Linked DNA regions of Homo sapiens: all the other regions are linked to region 1. The links are contacts of gene promoters, found by promoter capture Hi-C in human tissues and cell types (Jung and others, 2019). All regions are on one chromosome and are shown on one strand. Each heading gives the region's core, a stretch centred on a gene start or on the middle of the fragment in contact. The rest is flanking DNA. Distances are from core to core; before and after follow the strand shown. Region 1 holds the start of SLIT2 (slit guidance ligand 2). Region 2 overlaps LOC105374511 (a long non-coding RNA gene). Region 3 overlaps PACRGL (parkin coregulated like). Region 4 has its middle 270 kb from the start of SLIT2.

Region 1 (2,839 bases), core at 265-2,764:
AAAATCTAGAAGGACAAATGAGTTAATAAATGTCAAATGTTTTTGAAGGTTTTAAAAGAATAGAGCAATATAAATCTGTGGCATTAAAATGAGTAATCCTAAGAGTTCCAATTCAGTTATCAGATGGTACCCTGCCTTTGGGCGTGTCCTCGAAAAGGCTTACGTTTTCCAAGGCAGGCAAAATGAGGTAAGTAGGGGTAGCCATTATGAAAGGACATCTTAGAAAATGTTAACCAGGAAAAACGTTAATGAGGATATTGCAGAGATTTTAGGTTGAGCATACTCTTGAGTTAAAGAAATCGGTTACTTATGAGGAAACCTATTATGTGGCAGGCATAGATGCTGGAAATACAAAGAGTTGGACAGGTCTTGCTTTCAAGGAAGCTTCTAATAATTATACAAATAACTACTACAATATGAGGCTGGTATTAGGCGGGGGCTTGCACAAATTCCAGGGAAAGCTTCTTAACGTGGAAATGGGAGGAAGAACAACAATATGATGCATATTAAATCCAAGAGAAGGAGCAGAGTCATTTAGATGTCATTTCAAACTTACAGTGACATTGGCTCTTGCTGGGGGGGAAAGGGGGGCGAGAGAGGCAGCCGTTGCCAGACATACGTCACACTAAAGAGACAAGATGAAACAAGGAAATTCTCTTTCAAAACATAGCGGGGAAAAAAATATCCAGAACTGCCCTGAAATAAAGAAAACCTTCTGGTATAATGTGCGTTGCTAGGGATTTATTTTTTCCCCTCCTTTCTCTCATAAGAGAGTAAAAAATCACACAGATACGTTCAAGCCCTTAAGAGTTTTGTGAGCCTATTGAATATCCAAGACATCAACTGACCACGGTGTGGTTCAGTGTGTGTCTACAAAGGAAGGGTTAAACGGAAGGGGGTGGCTTGGAGATAGAAAGGCAAGCAAGAAGGTTGGAAAATGCTGTTTTCCAACTTGCAAAAACTGAACTTTTCAGCTCCCCAAAATACACGTGTGTGTCTGTAAGCGCAGGCAGATCTATTTCGGTAGGATTTTTCTTAAATTTAAATCATAATTTCTCTGTTTCTGTCTCTCTGTCTCTTGCTGCGCTGCAAAGAGTGAGCAGCCCCCTTAAGGATCGCGTGGCAAAAGCTGCAGGAGAGGCACTGGCAGGGCTGTTTATTTATGAGCCGCGTTCAAAGCCGACCTCTTCCCATTCTCCCACTGCAAACGACTATCTCCGAGCCCAGGTCACCTCTGGGGCCAAGGAGTTGGGGGCTGGGGCTCGGGTGGCTCCTTCTTCGGGCCAAGTTTGCCCGCGCGTGGGAGCGAGGGGGCGAGCCAGGGCGCACGGGAACGCGCGCCGCCAGCCGCCGCCTCCGCCCAGCGCTGGCAGCCCCGGCCTCACCTCTCCCCTCTCCCCAGCGAGGTGCGGGCTCCCAGAGCGGAGCCAGGGGGCGGGCCTGGGCCTCGAGGGGCGGGGTCAGGGGGCGGAGGCTCGGGCGGCTATATAAGGCCCGCGCCGGCTCAACTTCGGACTTGGTGTTATTTATTTGGGAAGCGCCCGGACGGCGGAGCTTGGCGGCGGCGGTGGTGGTGGCTGCCGCAGACTGTGGTTAAAAAAAAGAAGGCGGCGGCGGCGGCGGCGGCGGAGGCGGAGGCAGCTGCGAGGCATGGGAGCGCCGAAGCGCCCAGGCGCAGGCCGAAGCTGCCGCGCTTTCTGGGCACGGCGGGAGTGCTGAGCAGAAAGGGGAGCGCCGGGGGCCCGCAGCCGGCTCCGGAGGCGCGGGCCGGGTTTTTGTTTGGCTACGCTGAGCGCCAGTCAGCCCCAGCGAACAACTCCAGTTACGACAACAACCCACCTTCCTTCCAGACAAGCGAGACTTGGGCTGCTGCGTCCGTCCTATTGTTTAGACACTTGCCAGGGGCTCCGGAGTCGGCAGAGCCACCGAGTCCCCGCTCTGAGTCGTCGCCCTCCCTCTCCCCGACCTCGCTCCCTGGAGCGGGAGGCCAGGAAAGCAGCGGGAGAGGGGAAGGGGCTAGAAGGAGAAGGACTACCCGGGACTGCGGCCGCCGCGTCAGGTGCAGCGCCAGGAGCCGGGCGGCGTCGCCACGCCGGCAGGGGTACCGCCACTGTGGCCTTGGGGGACGGAATTCAAAGCCTGGGAAAAGTTGCTGCACTTTGAGAAGGACGAACCACTAGTGGGAGACCGCCGGGGGCCGGCCGTGGCTCTGCGCCCTCCGGAACCCGGCTCTTGTTTCTTCTACCTTTGCCATCAGGTGTCTGCCGCGGAGCTGCGGCTTATCTGGGAGACGAGCGGGGTTGACACGCGCGCACACACTACTGCCATTCAGCTGCCGCCTGGCTCTGCCTGGAGTAGTGGATCCCACCCGCCCACCTGCCACCGAGCCATTCTCCAGTACGCCCCAGCAGGACGCTGACACCTCCAACCTTGGCCTTTGCCTTTCCACTCCTTCCGGTCTGCCTGGTTTTTAAGTCCGCCCCCAGTCAGTCCCCACTCAGTCTTCGCAGCAGCTCTCATCCTCCACTTGGCCTCTTGGAGTTCCTCGCCGGAGTGCTGACTAGTGGATATTTCTGCCCGGCTGCGGCGGCCCGACTGCCCTTTTGTCTTTTCTGCGTGACCTCGGGGCAGGTCCTGGTGCAGAGCGTCGCCAAGGACGCCGAGCGGGAGGCGGGATTGCCCAGACATCCTTCAGCGAAGTGCATGTGTGTTTGTAAACCATCGTTGGCTGTCGGGAGACCGCGAGGACCGGTCCAGGCTGCGGCGGAGTCGAGGGCGAGGGAGAGGCCGCGTGAGTGAGCAGAGTCCAGAGCCGTGCGCCCCCAGAACTGCGCGTCCG
Region 2 (3,069 bases), core at 471-2,970, 320 kb before region 1:
GGGCACAGTGGCTCATGCTTATAATCCCAGCACTTTGGGAGGCTGAGGCAGGAGGATCACTTGAAGCCAGGAGTTCAATACCAGCCTGGGCAACAAAGCAAGAGCACATTTGTACAAATCGTGTTTTAAAAAACAAGCCTGGTATAGCAGTGTGCACCTGTAGTCCCAGCTACTTAGGAGGCTGATGAGAGAGGATCACTTGAGCCAAGGACGTTGATGCTGCAGCGAGCTATGATCGTGGGAGTGCACTCCAGCCTGGGTGACACAGCGAGATCCTGTCTCAAGAAAAGAACATTCTGCGTAAATACTGGAGATTTCATGAACATAATTCTAACAGCTTGAGTTCCTCCTTTGTCCTGGCTCATGTGGGAATCTGGCTCTAGTAACTGCAATCCTGCCATGTTCTTCCATACTCAGGTTCCTACTTTCGGCACCTTTACTATAATCCAGATTCTCTCAATCGAGCATAGTCTTTTCTTCCTTCCTATAGAGACTGGAAAACAATCTCTGGAATAGAGTCTGGCTTCTCCAGAATTGTTAGTTTGCTTTCTGGGATTTCTCTTCATGACCGAAAGGCATCATTTTTCAACTGTGTAATTCCAGCAGCCTCCTAGCCCTTCTCTCCAATATCTCCTTATTCTGTTCTGTCATATTCTAAAACCAGATTCTCTTAATATTCATGAAGCACAGATTTGCAGATGACCCTTCTGTTATCAATCAGATTCTCCTGTCCTCTTGCCCATGGAAGAAGGCACATTGAACTCAATCATTATAAACATCCTCTACATAAACTCCATGTTCCAGAGAAAGTCTAGTCTTTGCTTGTCATTGAAGACAATGCTCATTTTCCTGCCTCAGTGGTTTCTGTCAACTAAAATGCTTTCTATCCCCTTTTCTGATTATCTCTGTCCAGGTGTTAAGGCCTGAATAAAATGCCCACTCTTCCATGGTATACAAGCAAGGGAAGTAATATGAGTTGAAATAAAAGTGGTTAAGAGGGAATGGAAAGTAAAGAATTCATGTAAGACCTATTTTAAAGGTAGAAGTAAATGTACTTAGTTTCTGATTTTAAATATGAGGATAATATTAAATATTAATAAAAACTACCAATTTGTAGCACTTACCCTGTATCTACCTCTACAAATTGTGTTCTACATGAATTAGTTATTTTATATAAATATCCTGGACAGGAAGTTGCTATTATTATCCTAGTATATAGATGAGAAAATAGATCCTTACAGATGTTAGTAAACTATTTAAGGTTTCACAGCTTCCAGAGTAAAGTTGACATTTTAATTCAGGTATGTCTAACCTATATTATGGTCTTAACCGTGAAGACATGACTTGGAGGCTTGTAGCCTGAGGGAACTGGTAAAAAATTGTGAGAGAAATAAGCAAAACAATTTTTCTTTTTAAAACATTTAACTTTGAAACATTTAAATAATATGTAGAAGGAGACATTCACCAGATAGTTGCAATCAGAGAAATGGAATTTGGAAAGGAATAATTAATACAGGTATTGATGGAGATTCCAAAAACAATTGAAACAAAAACAAAAATTGACAAATGGGACGTAATTATGGACCTTCTGCATAGAAAAAATCAACTATCAACAGAGTAAACAGGCAACCTACAGAATGGGAGAAAATATTTGCAAAATATGTATCTAACTAAGGTCTAACAGCCAGAATCTACAAGGGACATAAACAAATAAGCAAGCAAAGAAACAAAACAAACCAAAAAAATAAAAAATGGGCAGAGGATATGAACAGACGTTTCTCAAATGAAGATATATACACCATCAACAAGCATATGAGAAAATGTTCAATGTCACTCATCATTAGATAAATGTAAACCAAAACCACAATGAGATACCATCTTACACCAGTCGGAATGACTATTACTAAGTAGAAAATAACATTCTGGTGAGGCCGCAGAGAAAAGAGAGAGCTTATACACTGCAGGTGGGAATGTAAATTAGTTCAGCCACTGTGGGAAGCAGTTTGGAGATATCTCAAAGAACTTGAAACAGAACTACCATTCAACCCAAAAATCTCATTACTGGGTAAATACCCAAAAGAATATAAATCATTCTACCATAAAGGCACATGCACATGTATGTTCATTGCAGCACTATTCATAATAGCAGAGACATGGAGTCAACCTAGATGCCCATCAACAGTGGACTAGATAAAGAAGATGTGGTACAGATACACTATGGACTACTAGGAAGCCATAAAAAAAGAATGAAATTGTGTACTTTGCAGCAATGTGGATGGAAATGGAGGCCATTATCCCAAGCAAATTGGTGCAGGAACAGAAAACCAAATACTGCATGTTCTCACTTATAAGTGGGAGCTAATCATGGAGTACACATGAAACACAAAACAGGGCACACACAATAGACATCAAGGCCTGCTTGAGAGTGGAGGGTAGGAAAAAGTTGAGGTTAGAAAAACTACCAACAGGTACTATGCTCATCTCCTGAATGATGAAATAATCTGTACACCAAACCCCCATGACACACAATTTACCCATGTTACAAACCTGCACATGCATCCCCTGCACCTAAAATAAAAGTTGAAAAGAAAAAAAAAGTTATTTACTTGAAATGAAAGATAAAGTTTTAAGAGTAGGTGCAGTAACAAATGAGAGAACAATGAAGAAAAGAGAAGGAGGCCAAAGGCTAATATTCTGGAAAAACTTCCACGAATAATGATGAGGAAAAAATGGAAAAGGAAGACAGGAGAATTTCATGACAGATTCCAGGGCCAATAGTGTCATAATATGGAAGTATGTTGTAATACGGAAATGGTAATATGTTCCAATATGGAAAATAATTTGATGATCTAAGGTCAGAATATCTTGGAGGTCCCTGAACAAGAGTTACAGCGGAGCAGTAGCAGTTAAAGCCAGATGGGAAGAGATTAAGGAGTTATATACGGTAATACCTGGCTTGACGACGGGGATATGTTCTGAGAAAGGAGTCACTAGGTGATTTTGTCATTGTATGAGCATCACAGAGTATACTTACAGAAACCTGGGTGGTATAGCCTACTACACACTTAG
Region 3 (3,245 bases), core at 370-2,869, 460 kb after region 1:
GGATAAAAGCAAAGTGACAAATAGTTTGAGCGGCTATGTTCCTTTGCTTTTTTCTGTAATCTACAGTGTCAAGGAAATTGAATACCTGAAGAAGGCCCTAATAATCTTGTTGCTCTCACTTCCTTTGCTTATGTTTAGTTGAGGGAGTTTACGGTGACGCTTCAATTTTCTTCCTCTCTTTAAAGAAGTACTTTTTGAATTAATAATATTTAGTGACCTTAGTCCTAAGTTTTAGTAAAAATCGAGGAAAGTTTTGGGAAATAGTTAAATAATTTGACCCGAGAAAAGCATGTGTAAAAGCTACCAATATAAAACAAATGAGTTGGAAGTCAGAATAATGTTCACCTTTGGGGCGAAAGGTGGGCAGGGATTTGGGAGAGGCAGTGGAGGCATCTAGTGTGCTGGAAACTTTCAGATTTTTCAACTCTGTTGATAAACAGGTGTGTTCATTTTTTGTGAATTCACTATTGTGATTTATGCACATTAATATTTTAAATATTTGAGTTAAAAAATTTTTTGAAACGCTAATTCAGTGTAGTATAGTATATAACATTAATACAGAGTTGAAATATGGTCTGAAATTGTTAAAAATTGAATGGGATAACATTTTTCACTTTAGACTTGGTAAAATTTGGTTAAAATCGATAAAAGTAATCTATTCATAAAAAATTCTGATTTTGTGGAACATGGAAGATGAAACCATGATTATCTCTAGAATAAAATTGAAAGGCAAAGAAAGGAATTGTTTAGCATTTCAATCAGAAATTTAGTCTTTGTGGGTATATTGAAATTTTAGGGATTATTTTCATGACCTGTAAGGGCCAAAAAGAAAGATCATTTGCTTGTAGATGGTAGAAGTCAAATATGTTGATAGTATAGTACTAATTTGTCTTAATTTTTTCTCCAATATGTGTAGCACTTTTTCAAACAACTTTCTTATCGGATATGCTTGTTACTTGAAAATAATTTTTAAAACTTGTGTTTCTTTTATAGCAGAAATTATAACTAGATGAGTGAAACATTCCTCTTGTGAATTGTTACACATAACATGGATTGAATTTTGGAAATGAATCTTTTTTTTTTTTTGAGACGGAATCTCGCTCCGTCGCCAGGCTGGAGTGCAGTGGCACAATCTTGGTTCACTGCAAACTCCGCCTCCTGCATTCAAGCCATTCTCCTGCCTCAGCCTCCCGAGTAGCTGGGACTACAGGCACCCGCCACCATCCTGGCTAGTTTTTTGTATTTTTAGTAGAGATGGGGTTTCACCGTGTTAGCCAGGATGGTCTCGATCTCCTGACCTTGTGATCCACCCGCCTCAGCCTCCCAAAGTGCTGGGATTACAGGCTTGAGCCACTGCGCCTGGCCAGATATGAATCTTTTATTGTAATTTAATTTGAACGAATTTTCTCCTATGTGCTTTTACTCAAAACTCATGCTTTTCCAGAGGAAAAAAGAGCTGATTCTAAACTTTTTAAGCACATTTTAAAACTACCACTGTGTGTGACTTAAAAAAAATTATCTAGTTATATCTTTAAAACAGGTCAATTTATATTTTGTAATTTAGACAACTATTTTTCATTTGATTATATATTAAAAGTACCATGTGATAAAATATTTACTTTTTGTTCCTAAATCCTCTGTAAGTCTCTTATCAATTATATTGAAATTATTTATGCTGTAATTGTTTAACTGTTGTGATTGACCATCCCTTAAATCATCTTTAAGAGTAGGTATAAAATCAAGCTATTCATATATAGCAAAACTGAAAGGTTATGAAGTTATATATCTAAGAAAATACATCCAGGCATATATTTGTGAGAATCTTCCCCATCTTCAATTCTCTCCCTCCTGCCCAGCGCAATCCTTTGTTTTTTATAGAAGCCTAAAGCCAGTTTGGAGAAATGTGACTACCTACGCCATCTGTATTTGGCTGAAGCACAAAGTAGGAGATGTGCAGGTGGCAAAAAACAAATATACTTTTTCTGTACTTAACACCCCTTCTCCATAGAGTCCTCACCTTGAAAGGTCACAGTGGGGAAGAAGGTAGAAAGAACTATCATTCCATATGTGGTTTCAGCCGCGTTCAAGCATCCTGAATCGTTAGGGGAAAAAGAGATGTACCAAGTGTGGTCGTGGTATTCTAGTAGAGAGAGGATTGACAGTTTTTCTCAACTGTGTTGCTGAGTAGAAACGGTGCGCTTCGATACCAGCTTGGCGGTTTGAAAAGCAAAATGGCTGTGTGCTTCTGACCTCAGAAGTATAGGTGATAGTAATATTTTCATTTTTTATTTTAGTTTGGTGAACAGTCACGAGTGCCTTCTGCATTTGCAGCTATTTACTCTAAAGGAGGTATTCCTTGCAGGTAAAATCAATATGATTTATAACTGACCAAATTATTCAAAATCATTGAGTAAAATGAATACAATATTTAGTTTAAATGTATTGTAAGTTTTATTTACTAGTGAGGTTGAAATAAAGATGACTTTATTCACACTTTCTTTTGGACTGGTATAGATTCCTGGATGTTGTTGAAGAAAACCATTCTAGTTCCAAAATACAGTTATTGGGATCTATGGATAAACCATCAGTTTAAGAACTTTACTTGAACCCTTTTTCTAAAATAATCAATTTAAGCATTTGCAGGCTTGGGCAAGTTGCAAATTAAAAAATCCTATCTTGTTGGTAAAATGAAAGTTGTCAATTTAATGAAATTGTTTATATTTCATAATAAATACATATGGCTGTTTTTGCTTCATTTTGGATATAATTCTTGCCACCTTTCTAGACAGATGTCAGAACTTTAAAAAAAAAATACTACAGATAATGTATCATTTTACAATTTATTTCTATAAAGCATTTATTTCTTCAGAGTTCATCCAGTTTTAGCCTGTTGTAGATGATAGAAAATTTTATTTTGATTATGGAAATAATCACAACATTTATTTATTTTTGTTCCAAAATTCAAGAAATCTAGTTTTTAATGGTATTTTCGGATTTGGAGTGAAAAATAAGCTCAAGAAATACTCTTCAGTTTATTGTTATTTCATATTTACATTCTGAATTGAAACCCTATTTAAAGTTTCTTAATTCTCTACTCCCCACCCCTCCAAAACTTATTGTTGCAAAAATGTAAAAACAATATTAGAGAGACGTCTTACTCTTATGAAAATAAGCCCAAAGGAGTCAAGAAGTCAAGAACATTACAAAGGAGTTCAAAGAAGCATTTAGGTTGATGGATTAAGTTC
Region 4 (3,242 bases), core at 462-2,961, 270 kb before region 1:
TAACACGTGACATCCACTAATCTGTTCTTTCATTTAATGAATGTTACACAAATAGAATTGTACACTATGTAACCTTTCAGGGACTGACTTTTCTTACTGAGCTTAATTCTCTGGAGACTCACGTAAGTTATATCGGGTATCAATTGCTCATTTCCTTGTATTAGTGAGTACCAAGTCCATGGCATAGATGTGCCCCAGTTTGTTTAACCTTTCCCCTGTTGAAGAATATTTGGTTGTTTTCAGTTTATAGCTATTACAATTAAAGGAGCTATAAACGTTCATGTATGGATTTTTTGCATAAACGTAAGTTTTCCTTTTTCTGGGATAAATACCTAGGAGTACAATTGTGGAGTAGTATAATAATTGCAGATTTAGATTTTTAAGAAAGTATCAATTTGTTTTCAATGTGGCTGCACCAATTTACCTTCTCACCCCAGGGTATGAATGATTCAGTTTTATCCACATACTGTCCAGCATTTGGTATTGTCACTATTTTGTTTTTTTGATTTTACCCATTCTGATATGAATGCAGTGTTACCTCATTGGAGTTTTATTTTGCATTTCTTAAGGGCTCATAATGAAAAATATATTTTCATGTGCTTATTTACCACCTATATATCCTCTTCAGTGTCATGTCCCTTAATGACTTTTGCGTATATGCTAATTAGATTGATTTTTTTTTCCTTACTGAGGGTTTTGAGAGTTCTTATGTATTCTAGATACTAGCCCTACGTTGGATGTATGGTTTGCAAATACTTTCTCCAACTGTGTAGTATATTTTTTCATTCACTTAACAACTCTTTTGCAGTGCAAACGTTTTCAATTCTGATGAAGTACAATTTATCCTTTTTCCCTTTTATAGATGTTTTTGGTATTAAGATTTTGCCTAGCCCTAGATCCAAAAAGATTTCCCCGTATTTTTTCCTAAGAGTTTTATAATTTTACATTTTATACTTACATCTCTATTTCATTTTGACTTAATTTTTTAATACAGTATAAGACATCGATCAGGTTTTTTTTTTATTTCTCTGTTTTGTTTTGTTTTTGTTTTTGTTTTGCCTATGGAAGTTCACCTGTTCTAGCATCGGTTTTTGAAAAGGCGATTTTTCCTCTGTTAAACTGATCTCGTTCCTTTGGCACAAGTCAATTGGGTATATATGTTTGGACCTATTTCTGGGGTTCTCTATTGTATTCCATTGACCTATGAGCCTAATTCTCTGCCAATACCATACAGACCTGGTTATGGTATCTATATAAAATAGGTCTTGAAAGTGGGTAAAGCAATTTTTCCCACTTTCTTCATCTTTTTCAAACTTGTTTAGCTATTCCACTTCCTTAGCCTTTCAGTGTAAGTTGTAAGATAACCCTGTCTATATCCACAAAAAAATGCCATGATTTTGATAAGAATTGCACTAGACATGTATATCCCTTTGGGTAGACTTGGCATCTTTGCTATGTGAGTCTCACAATCCATACGTAAAGTTCATGTCTCTTCATTTTTCACAGATCTTTGATTTTTTAAATCAGTGTTTTATAGTTTGAAGCATACAAGACCTGCAAATGTTTGGCTATATTTAAAGCTAAGTATTTAATTTTAAAAATGTTTGCAAATGGTATTTCATTTTACATTTTTGTTTCTATGTGCTAATTTTTTATATATAGTGTGTGTGTGTGCGTATATATACACAATTGATTTTTGTGTTTATTTTGTTCTATCAACTTGCTAACCTTATTTATATGTTCTAGGAGGCTTTTTTGATAGATTTTGTAGAATTTTTTCATGTAAGATGATCATGTTATCTGCAAATAAAGGTAAATTTATATCTTTCATTCTGATCTGCATTCCTTTTATTTCTTTTCCTCACCTTATTGTGTCTACTAGAGTTTCCAGTACTATGTGAAATAAGAGGGTTGAGAGTGGATGTCCTTGCCTTCACTCTGATTCTACAGGGAAAACATTTAGTCTTTCACCGTTAAGAATCACATTAGCTGTAAGAATTTTTTTTTAATCAAGTTGAGGAAGTTCCTCTCTATTCCTGATAAGGTTTAGCTCTGTGTCCCCACCCAAATCTCATCTTGTAGCTCCCATAATTCCCACGCATTGTGGGAGGGACACAGTGGGAGATGATTGAATCATGGGGGAGGATCTTTCCCATGCTGTTCTCGTGACAATAAATGGGTCTCACATGATCTGATGGTTTTTAAAAAGGGAGACTCCATACAGGAGCTCTCTTTGCCTGCTGCCATCCACGTAAGAGGTGACTTGCTCCTCCTTGCTTTCCACCATGATTGTGAGGCCTCCCCAGCCACGTGGAACTGTAAGCCCAGTTACACCTCTTTCTTTTGTAAATTGCCCAGTCCTGGGTATGTCTTTATCAGCCGGGTGAAAACGGACTAATACAATTCCCTTTTCCCTAAGAGTTTTTCCTTATGTGTGTTAAAGCTTGTCAAATATTTTTTCAGCATAAATTCATATGAACATGCGATTTTTATTCTTTAAACTGTTAATATGATAGGTTACATTGCTTTTTAAAATGTTGAACCAGCCATAAATCTCTGGAATAAATCCACTTGATTATGGTGTATATTTTTTACATATTAATGTACATATTAATGAATTCTGTTGACTAAAATTTTCTTAGGGAGTTTATTTATGCATTCATGAATACATCCAGGTATACTCGTATTTATATTTGTCAGCAGTTTTGTTTTTTATTATTTTTCCTGGTTGATCATGCATAGCACAGAGTGTTATTAGCTTCATAAAATGAAGTGCTCTCTCATCTATTTTCTGGAGAAGATTGTGTATAATTGCTGTCATTGTTCTTTAAACATTTGCTAGAATTCAAGACTGAAGTTATCTGGGCTTACTAGATTTTTAACAGTTTTCTTTCAGCTACAGATTCGATTACTTTAATAGTTAAAGGCTACTATTGTATATTTGATGAGTTGCGAGTTTATATTTTTCAAGTAATTGTCAATTTTTCACATATTTGTTCAAAATATTTCCTTATTAACTTTTTGATGTCTGCAAGGTTATAGTTATATCCCCTGCTTTATTTTTGATAGTGTTAATTTGTGTCTGCTTTTATCTTTTTCTTGCTAGAAGTTAGTTGGTTTTATTAATATTTCCACAGAACAAAGTTTTTGTTTTCTTGTCTCTATTTTTTTTCTGATCTTAATTTTATTAATCTATGCTTTTTTTTAGTATTTTTTTTCTCAATTCTTTGGGTTTATTTTGC

The links. The method cuts DNA at HindIII sites, captures the fragments that hold promoters and counts their contacts. A contact is called where the count stands out against the background at its distance.
Region 2: a fragment that was not itself captured here is called in contact with the fragment with the promoter of SLIT2 in region 1 in 1 of the 25 tissues and cell types used here (heart left ventricle).
Region 3: a fragment that was not itself captured here is called in contact with the fragment with the promoter of SLIT2 in region 1 in 1 of the 25 tissues and cell types used here (aorta).
Region 4: a fragment that was not itself captured here is called in contact with the fragment with the promoter of SLIT2 in region 1 in 1 of the 25 tissues and cell types used here (IMR-90 fibroblasts).

The regions. Positions count from the first base shown.
Region 1 is chr4:20,250,391-20,253,229 of GRCh38, forward strand. SLIT2 (slit guidance ligand 2) reads left to right here and starts at 1,515. Exons shown (of 37, transcript NM_004787.4): 1 at 1,515-2,839. RefSeq lists an enhancer at 2,631-2,839. The HindIII fragment of the contact is 10,378 bases long and covers 1-2,839 here.
Region 2 is chr4:19,929,038-19,932,106 of GRCh38, forward strand. All of the region lies in intron 3 of LOC105374511 (a long non-coding RNA gene), which reads left to right. Among named protein-coding and RNA genes, the nearest start is that of SLIT2, 320 kb to the right of the region's middle. The HindIII fragment of the contact is 6,007 bases long and covers 1-3,069 here.
Region 3 is chr4:20,705,509-20,708,753 of GRCh38, forward strand. PACRGL (parkin coregulated like) reads left to right here. Exons shown (of 9, transcript NM_001258345.3): 4 at 2,295-2,362. Among named protein-coding and RNA genes, the nearest start is that of PACRGL, 6.7 kb to the left of the region's middle. The HindIII fragment of the contact is 7,860 bases long and covers 1-3,245 here.
Region 4 is chr4:19,983,887-19,987,128 of GRCh38, forward strand. No RefSeq gene overlaps it. Among named protein-coding and RNA genes, the nearest start is that of SLIT2, 270 kb to the right of the region's middle. The HindIII fragment of the contact is 6,823 bases long and covers 1-3,242 here.